2 separate regions of the Homo sapiens genome follow, and region 1 is linked to region 2. The links are contacts of gene promoters, found by promoter capture Hi-C in human tissues and cell types (Jung and others, 2019). All regions are on one chromosome and are shown on one strand. Each heading gives the region's core, a stretch centred on a gene start or on the middle of the fragment in contact. The rest is flanking DNA. Distances are from core to core; before and after follow the strand shown.

What was found. The method cuts DNA at HindIII sites, captures the fragments that hold promoters and counts their contacts. A contact is called where the count stands out against the background at its distance.
Region 1: a fragment that was not itself captured here is called in contact with the fragment with the promoter of SLC25A52 in region 2 in 1 of the 25 tissues and cell types used here (dorsolateral prefrontal cortex).

What each region holds. Positions count from the first base shown.
Region 1 is chr18:29,824,071-29,828,483 of GRCh38, reverse strand. No RefSeq gene overlaps it. Among named protein-coding and RNA genes, the nearest start is that of MIR302F, 470 kb to the left of the region's middle. The HindIII fragment of the contact is 3,507 bases long and covers 1,016-4,413 here.
Region 2 is chr18:31,758,111-31,762,577 of GRCh38, reverse strand. SLC25A52 (solute carrier family 25 member 52) reads left to right here and starts at 1,698. Exons shown (of 1, transcript NM_001034172.4): 1 at 1,698-2,994. The coding sequence starts at 1,917. The coding sequence ends at 2,810. The HindIII fragment of the contact is 6,307 bases long and covers 1-4,467 here.

The DNA of each region.
Region 1 (4,413 bases), core at 1,520-4,019, 1.9 Mb after region 2:
GTCCTATAATACATCATTATATTTTTTGGCTTTGAAAATTAAATTGACTATTAGCTCACTTAAGAACAAAAGATAAATATTTTTTGAGAATTATCCACATACCATTTTTGGTAGTGTTTCTTTCATGCTGAAGAACTGAATTTGCATATGGTCTGACTTCCATTCAGCATGAAGAATTTTCTCTATCATTTCTTACATTATATTCTCAGATTAGACTTGATATCATCTTTATTTAATCTTCAATTTTGAAAGATAATTTTACTGTACTTATAATTCTAGGTTGATAGTGTTTATTTTTTTCTACACATAAAAATGTTGATTATCTTTCGCACTCTTTTATGGTAAAAAGTCAGTCATCAATATTGATACCAATCTGCTAAATGTGGTGTCTTTTTTCTTTAGCTGTTTTTAATTACTCTCTATATTTTTTCATCATTTAAATATAATATTCCTAGTTATGCTTTTATTTATATTTCTTATTCCACTTGTATGCTGTGATTTCTCAATAGGTGGTTGAGTTATTGTTTGTTGCTCTTCTATACTACCTTACTCTTGTTTTCTTCTCTGGGCTTCAGTTTGAACAATTTCTGTTGCCTTATCTTTATTCCTATTGATCTTCTCTTCTACTATGTCGACTCCACTGTTTATCCAATTCGCTGAAGTGGTGGTATGTGTGTGTGTTTGTGTGTTTGTTTGGTATTTTATTTCTCACTTCTGAGATGTCCATTATATACTCCCATTAAAGTGTCAATAAATCTGAAATTTCCCATCTGCTGACTCATGTCAATTCTTTTCCTACACATGCCCTAACATATTTATCATAGTAAATTTAAATTCCATGTTGGCTAATTGCAACACCCTGGTCATTTTGGATCTGCTTATATTGACTGTATATTTCTTGATAGAGGTCACAGTTTCCTATAATTTCATATGTTTATCAATTTTATTACAAATGGAAAATTGTCAATCATACGTTGTTGGAAAATTTAGAATGCTTTTATCTTTTTCCTGGAAGTGTTGAATTTTGTTCTTCCAAGCAGATAAATGGCTGCAGGTCATCTTGATGTTACGAATAACTGTTTTTACATTTAATGTGAGTTTTGTCCTTAGTCCTTGGTTGTAATCGCAGTTTCTGATATTTGGTCTTTTTGAAGTTCTAATCACAAATCTTAGGCACTTATTATAAATTTCTCTTAAATTGTCCATATTACATTATCAAATTCTATCACTGATACTACACAGCTGTTGAAATTTCTGCTAAAAAGTTTTAGTTTTCTAACGATAGTATTTGCTCAATTTTCTTGGAAACTTTCCCTGTAAGATTATGGTTCAGATGTTGACAAGGGTGTGCAATTTGTTACTATGCAGATTCTGGGACTTCCACCTTTGTGGCTCTACTCTCCAATTAATCTTGCACCCTCAAACTCCAATCTCTGATGCTCAGTCAAAGTGAATGTTGCTTTCTGCTTGAGCCTTAACTCTGAAACACTCTGAAAATAGGAGAATGCTTTCAGAAAAAAGCTGCATGAATGTGGATTTCACCCATAACGTTTACCTTCTCTCAAGAGTCATGTTCCCTCCAGGGTCTGCTGCTTGTGGTCCCTTTCTGGTGCCTTCAGAAATGTGTTTTTGTTTTATGTTCTTTTATTTTTTACTTTTTAGTTTGGGGTTTATAATTGTTGTCATCAAAAAAGTAGGTTAGTCGAATCACAGTTATTCCACCGTAACTATAAACTGGGACCCAAAGTCATTTTATTCACTATGCCACTACTCACTTTTTGACAGACAACATTTTAAAACCTCCAAACACATTTTACCAGGAAGATTTCAAATCAACAAGGGCAAAAATTGGCCAGGCACAATGGCTCATGCCTGTAATCCCAGTACTTTGGGAGGCTGAGGTGGACGAATCACTTGAGGTCAGGAGTTTGAGACCAGCCTGGCCAACATGGTGAAACTCCGTCTCTACTAAAAATACAAAAATTAGCTTAGTGTGGTGTTGCACGCCTGTAGTCCCAGCTACTCGGGAGGCTGAGGCAGAAGAATCGCTTCAACCTGTGAGGCAGAGGTTGTAGTAAGCCTCAATCCCACCACTGCACTCCAGGGCAACAGAGTAAGACTCTGTCTCAAATACATAAATAAATAAATACACAAACAAAAACATCTACACGTTTCTGAAAAAGGATATTTACTTTTTTGCTGTAGTCTTCCTGAGATGAAAATCATTTTACTGTTGACAGCAAAAATAAGAACAAAGCACTAGTTTCAGATTATTCCATCACCAGAGAAAGCATACAAGTCCTTTGGTCTTTTTACAAGTCTGTGGATCCCAGCACACGGAAAAGTGTGCAGATAGTTATGACGGTACCTGAGAAAATGACAAACTCCCTGATGGGGATGACAGTACAGAGCACAATAGAATAGAGATTAGAAAATTCCCTCCTCCTTCCACTACCCACTTTAGGCTCTCTGTAAAGCCTACTTCATTCACCTGGGACTCTAGAGAAAAAAGCCTAGGGTAGCCCAGGTGATCCTTGAGGTTAAATTTTTACCAATTCAATAGAATGAGGGCTCAGTGTCAATTTTAATTTGTTTAAGTTAAACAAAGAAATTAATTTTATGCAGACATAATTTCCTTGATTGAGATTTTATAGTTGATAAAAATATCTGGAAGGGATGACACAGTGAGCATTCTAAAATATCTTAGCCTAAATGAACTAGACTGTCTGTATAAGAGGAAAGTTGTTGCAAGTTGTGGTTGTCAGCTGGGTATGTAGGTATGTATGTTACTGTTTTGGACTTGTACATTACACAGATAAATACCAGAAGCAAGAGGAAGAGCAAAAAGTGAATGTAAAGAAACAACATCAGTTCTTAAGTAAAGACAATAGATGCAAACACTAGCCACCTATATATTTTTGTATTATCAGGGATAAGTAATGTATAGTGGATAGGGTAAAGAGTAGGACAGTGGATGGGAGGAAATAAAGACATACATTTTAAGCTTTGGAATGTTTTGTACATTAAGCATGGTCATTAAATAAAAAAATTCTATTTAAACTTTATAATATACAAGTACATAGTTTGAAGAAATCTTTCAAGAACTCAAAATACATCACACATCAATTCCAAAGCATTAGGAACAAACCAGGGTAAAAGAAGAAAGCTAAAGACAAGTTTTGGCTGTTGATCTTCACTTAAGGGATAATTGAATATTAAAAAAGCAAAAATCAATCTAAGTCTGGCATTTACGCAATGTCTGAAAATTTGTATCTTTGCCTACTTTGGAAGATTTGGCCATAATACTTTTTATCTTCTTTCAGTAAAAAATGTAAGACTATTCTGCACTTAGGTTGAAATTTGACTTATGATGCTTTCAAACGATACGGTCCAAACCACTCATTAGGTAGTACATAAGAGAGAAATGTGATGCAATTTAGATGTAAAATTAACCACTTCTTGTGAAAAAAAAAAAGCTAGAAAAAGCTTGGCAAGTGAATTTGTTAAGTGTTTTCTTTTACGTTGAAATGTAATTTGATGCAGAAAGAGGAAAGAAAAGAAATACATTCTCATATGTCTCTGTGTTCCACAAAGATTTGGCTAGTCTAGAGCTAATTGGCCTATTGAGGATACTGATGTTTGTGAATGAATGTGCTAGGATTTTATTGAGTAATTATAATTTATTGATTTTTTTATTTATTGTTACTTTATAATCTAGTAGAACGCACTTAAGTCCGGAAGTATGGAGGATTTGCTTGTAATTTTGGCTTACCAAAAATGAATTACACTACCTTAAATCATTTGCTAATTTTTATATTCAGTATTTACTGAACACAGATATATGCCAGCTACTTTTACTGATTAATTTCAAATTTTAATCTTATCTCATCATTAAAGTGCCAAATATTCGCTAAAGATATGAGACCAGATAACAGAGAAAAATAATAAGGGTTTCAGAATTGGAACAGAAGATATTGAAATAAAAGGAACACAAATAACAAAATTTTACTAGAACCTAACTGAGTAAACAAATGTAAAAGAAGGCAAATGGGTTATCAAATTTGCCCAATTATTGTGAATTCATAAAAGGAATCAGAATGCCAAAGAGCAGAACAAAGGTATGTGGTCATAATGGTGGAGAAAAAAAAATATGTCTTAGGAAATTCAGTTAAACAGGTCTCATCTCCCATGACATGGCTAGCTTTGCTATGCCTATTGTGGAACTGAATATGAGAATATATGCCATGTTTAATCACTCTGGAGCTGAACACACAGGCTAGTGGAAGAGATATATACATTAAACACACAATTACTATACATTGAGAAGAGTGCCATAACAGAATAATCAAACTATAATGAAAGGAGAGATAAGGAAAATGCCAGCCCTTAAATGCTAAAAGTAAACGCAACACC
Region 2 (4,467 bases), core at 449-2,948:
CTAAGGAGTTAGCGAAGGCTTCCAGAAGCTGAGTAGGAACTAGAAGTAAGGACATTTCAGGCAGAGGCAATAACCGAATAAAGACAAAGGAGTGTCAGATGGCACATTATTCTTCATTCTGGAGACCCCGAGTAGTTTGATATGGCGGGGACGGAAGGTGCCTTTAGAAATGTGAAGGCAGATGGCGCCAAGGGTAGGAAAACGTCAGACCATGGGGGACCTTTGTCCTTCAGGTGTAAAATCATTTAAAGATTTAAGTGAGGGAAAACGTGCTCACGTTTGTTACTAAGATGACTGCTTTGGCTGCAGTGTGGAGGATGGATTGAAAAAAAGCAATTGTTATCTTACCATAGGATCATGAGAATCTCTCTTCAATAAATGCGAGAAAGGGCAGTCTGTTTTTCATGATATACTGATTGCCAGCATCTTGACAGAAGGGCTATGGCAAAACCGAGAAAACACTATCAATATTAGGCAAAAAAGCAAAACAAAACAAAAGAAAGGAAAACAAAGATCTCTCTAGCCCCAACAGTGCTAATTTTTGCATACCCAGCAATTACATTTCTAATGAAAGTCATTGCTGCCAAAATCAATCAGTATAAATGTTGGAGACTCCCTTCTCTTTCCGTGAAAAGCTTTTACTATTTCGTTTCACTAAAGCTTAAAGAGAACTTCGGGTTTATGGTTCATTCTAGAGCGATCCACCATAGGCGTGCTTTAAGATGATGGTCAGGGAAACTGTCATTTAATCTCAAGGAAGCTGTCATTTGATTCTATTCAAAAACTAGGCAGTACACATCAGCAGGCAATGTAGTCTGATGCTGTGACCTACTTTGTTGGCTGAAGCCTTCCACTGTTCCTGGAAGGGAAGTTATTTTTGTTTCCTTTCATCTCTCATTCACATACATGGAATATACACATTGGTTACTCTAGAAAACACATGGGTAGTCCTAGAGCAAAATGGGTTTCAAGGTTATTTAATTTATGCCTCTTAAAACCTCAGACACTTTCCTCCCAGTAAAATTTCATGTGGTATACAGAACTTTTTTTAAAAAAAAAATTCATCTTCTCCTTACTTCTCCTTACCACCTACTTTTTTCTTTCTTTTCTTTTTTCTTTTTTTGGGTAGAGACAGGGGTCTTGCTATGTTGCCCAGGCTGGTCTCAAATTCCTAGCCTCAAGCGATCCTCCCGTTTTGGCCTCCCAAGGTGCTGGGATTACAGGTGTGAACCACTGCACCTGGCCTACTTTTTTCCCTTTCAAGAAAATACAGTACTCCAAGGCCTGAGTGACTATGAAATTTCAACTTTTGTGCCTTTGTACTCTTAGATACCATGTTTGTTTTGTTCTTCTGCAAGATTACACTAAAATCCACTTTTCTTGTATGTATACACTATTTAAAAAGTTTCACAGTCTCTTAGGGAAGCCACTGGCAACACATCTTCACAGTGTCCGTGGAGAAGGTTATGTGATTTAAGAAACACTTGTGTCTATACCATTTAATATTTAGGAATTTGTTGATTTTTTAGGATCTTTGGATGAATGAGTTTTTAATTTTATCCAGCTTATTTAGAAGAAATTGCCATGCTTGCTTTAAAAGGGTTTCTTCTCGGATCCCAGCGGCGCCCAGAGCGTCACGCTGCGCCCCCGCCCCGGGGTCGGTCATGGTCTGCGCCTGCGCAGGTCCCGGCTTGCTCGCAGTCCTGCGGGGCGCCGGCGGCGATGGGTTGGGGAAATGGACGCCTGGAGAACGGAAATCCAGTTATCAAAATGGACTCGGGAAGAGAGAACCTAACAGAACAATAACAATGGAAGAAATTGGGAACATTATCACAAAGCTATCATCCTGCCAAACTCCAGGCTCAGATGATGTCACAGGTTAAAAAATGCCCTTCATGAGAAAGATCTTAAGCAACATGATAGATTCAGAAGCTCATGAAAAGAGGCCACCAATACTTACATCTTCAAAACAAGATATATCACCTCATATTACAAATGTTGGTGAAATGAAGCATTACTTGTGTGGCTGCTGTGCAGCCTTCAACAACGTCGCAATCACATATCCCATTCAGAAGGTCCTCTTTCGGCAACAGCTGTATGGCATCAAAACCCGGGATGCAGTACTTCAGTTGAGAAGGGATGGATTTCGAAATTTGTATCGTGGAATCCTTCCCCCATTGATGCAGAAGACAACTACGCTTGCACTTATGTTTGGTCTGTATGAGGATTTATCCTGCCTTCTCCGGAAGCATGTCCGTGCTCCAGAGTTTGCAACCCATGGCGTGGCGGCAGTGCTTGCAGGGACAGCAGAAGCAATTTTCACTCCACTGGAAAGAGTTCAGACATTGCTTCAAAACCACAAGCATCATGACAAATTTACCAACACTTATCAGGCTTTCAAGGCACTGAAATGTCATGGAATTGGAGAGTATTATCGAGGCTTGGTGCCCATTCTTTTCCGGAATGGACTCAGCAATGTCTTGTTTTTCGGCCTTCGAGGTCCCATTAAGGAGCATCTGCCTACCGCAACGACTCACAGTGCTCATTTGGTCAATGATTTTATCGGTGGAGGTCTATTGGGTGCCATGTTGGGATTCTTGTGTTTTCCAATTAATGTTGTAAAAACTCGCCTACAGTCTCAGATTGGTGGGGAATTTCAGTCTTTCCCCAAGGTTTTCCAAAAAATCTGGCTGGAACGGGACAGAAAACTGATAAATCTTTTCAGAGGTGCCCATCTGAATTACCATCGGTCCCTCATCTCTTGGGGCATAATCAATGCAACTTATGAGTTCTTGTTAAAATTTATATGAAAAAAAACCATCAGTTAAGTGCCATTTATCAACTGAATAGACCTTCTAAGAAGAATGCAGTTTGGCCTCTTTCTTAATTGGCCAAATACAAGTTCGTGTCATAACTCCAGGCCACAGTGAGTTACGGGCAAAGCTGTTTTCCTTAAGCATCAACAAAACAGAATAAAAGGTTCCAATAGGAAAATGTAAGGGTTTTTTTTTGTTTTGTTTTCTTTTTCTTTCTTTCTTTTTTTTTTTTTTTTATCATTACCTAAGAGCTTTAGGCTAATTGCCTGGTAAATAGCTGTCCATCTGATGGCCTTTGACAGGGAACCTAATCCCCAAGATAAGATTCTTTTTCTCAAACCAGTCTTGAAATCTCCTGCATTAAAACATAAGTTGCTATGACCGGCCAGAGAGAAGGTCCTCAGGGGCCAGGGGCTCCTCAGGCTTCCTTTGTTACTCCATTGCTTTCTTCTGTGCCCTCAGGAGCAGCTGCAGAGGATAGTCTTCATTAAGCTCAAGCATATGACAAAGGGGCAGAACAGAGAAGAAAAACAGCTTGTTATGTAGAGGCTTTTCATGATACATTGCTTGTATTAGTTTTGAAACTAATCACCTATTGGATAGTCATTATACTATTTCTATTTAGATATGGTAGATCAAGGAGCTATGAAAGTTCCCGTTTTGCTTTCTAGGTTTGAAAGTTTTCTGTTTGATTCTGACTGTGACCCTCAACCCTTCCAAAATATTCTTATGTTAATTTCACTTATTTCATTGCTGAAAGATGAAGGGACTTAAATTTTGTTATAGGTGTTCCATCCTGTTAAGAAGTTTTCATATTGTGTATAGATCAAATTCTGTTTAGCTTGGTTTCTTTGACTTATTGATGCCATCTCAGCAAAGGTCTGTGGTTATTTTTCCCGTGGAGTAGGAGTTGGTCATATTCAAGCATCCTGTTCTCTTAAAACTCTCCTTTTAAAAAATAAACACTTCCATAACATTTTGTTTTGTAAGTCTATTAATGCAATCCCACTTTTTTCCCCCTAGTTTCTAAATATTACAGAGTGGGGCGGGGGGCGGGAAAGGCTCAGGATAGTTTTCACCCCATAGTATTCGCTGTCTTTTATTTTACTCTTGGAAATAGAGACTCCATTAGGGTTTTGACATTTTGGGAACCCAGTTTTACCATTGTGTCAGTAAAACAATAAGATAGTTTGAGAGCGTATGATCTAAATAAAGGCATTTGAAGGGTTAGTTTGAACTCTAAAAGTAGGTAATAGCCAAATAGCATTCTCATCCCTTAACAGACGAAAACTTCTTTGTCAAAGGTATTAGAAAATGTGAAAATATTTTTTCCAGATGAAACTCATGCCACTTCCAATTGACTAATGAAATATAAGAGACAGACTGAAAAAGTGGATTGTGAATCTTAAAACCCTTTCTGTAAATATCATGTAGCTAAAGATTGATTTCCAGCATCTGACATGATGGTAGGTTTCTTGTTAACCAGTTTTTCTTCTTTCTGGGTAATTGCATGTGAATATGTGCACATACTGACCAAAATACAGGCCTCAACTTGGTAGTTTACTGAAAGTTTCTGGGCAAATAGTCCATAAAAGCTGTTTACCTCTAAATGCACTATGGCTGGTTAAATACAGTGAACATCCTTCTTCCA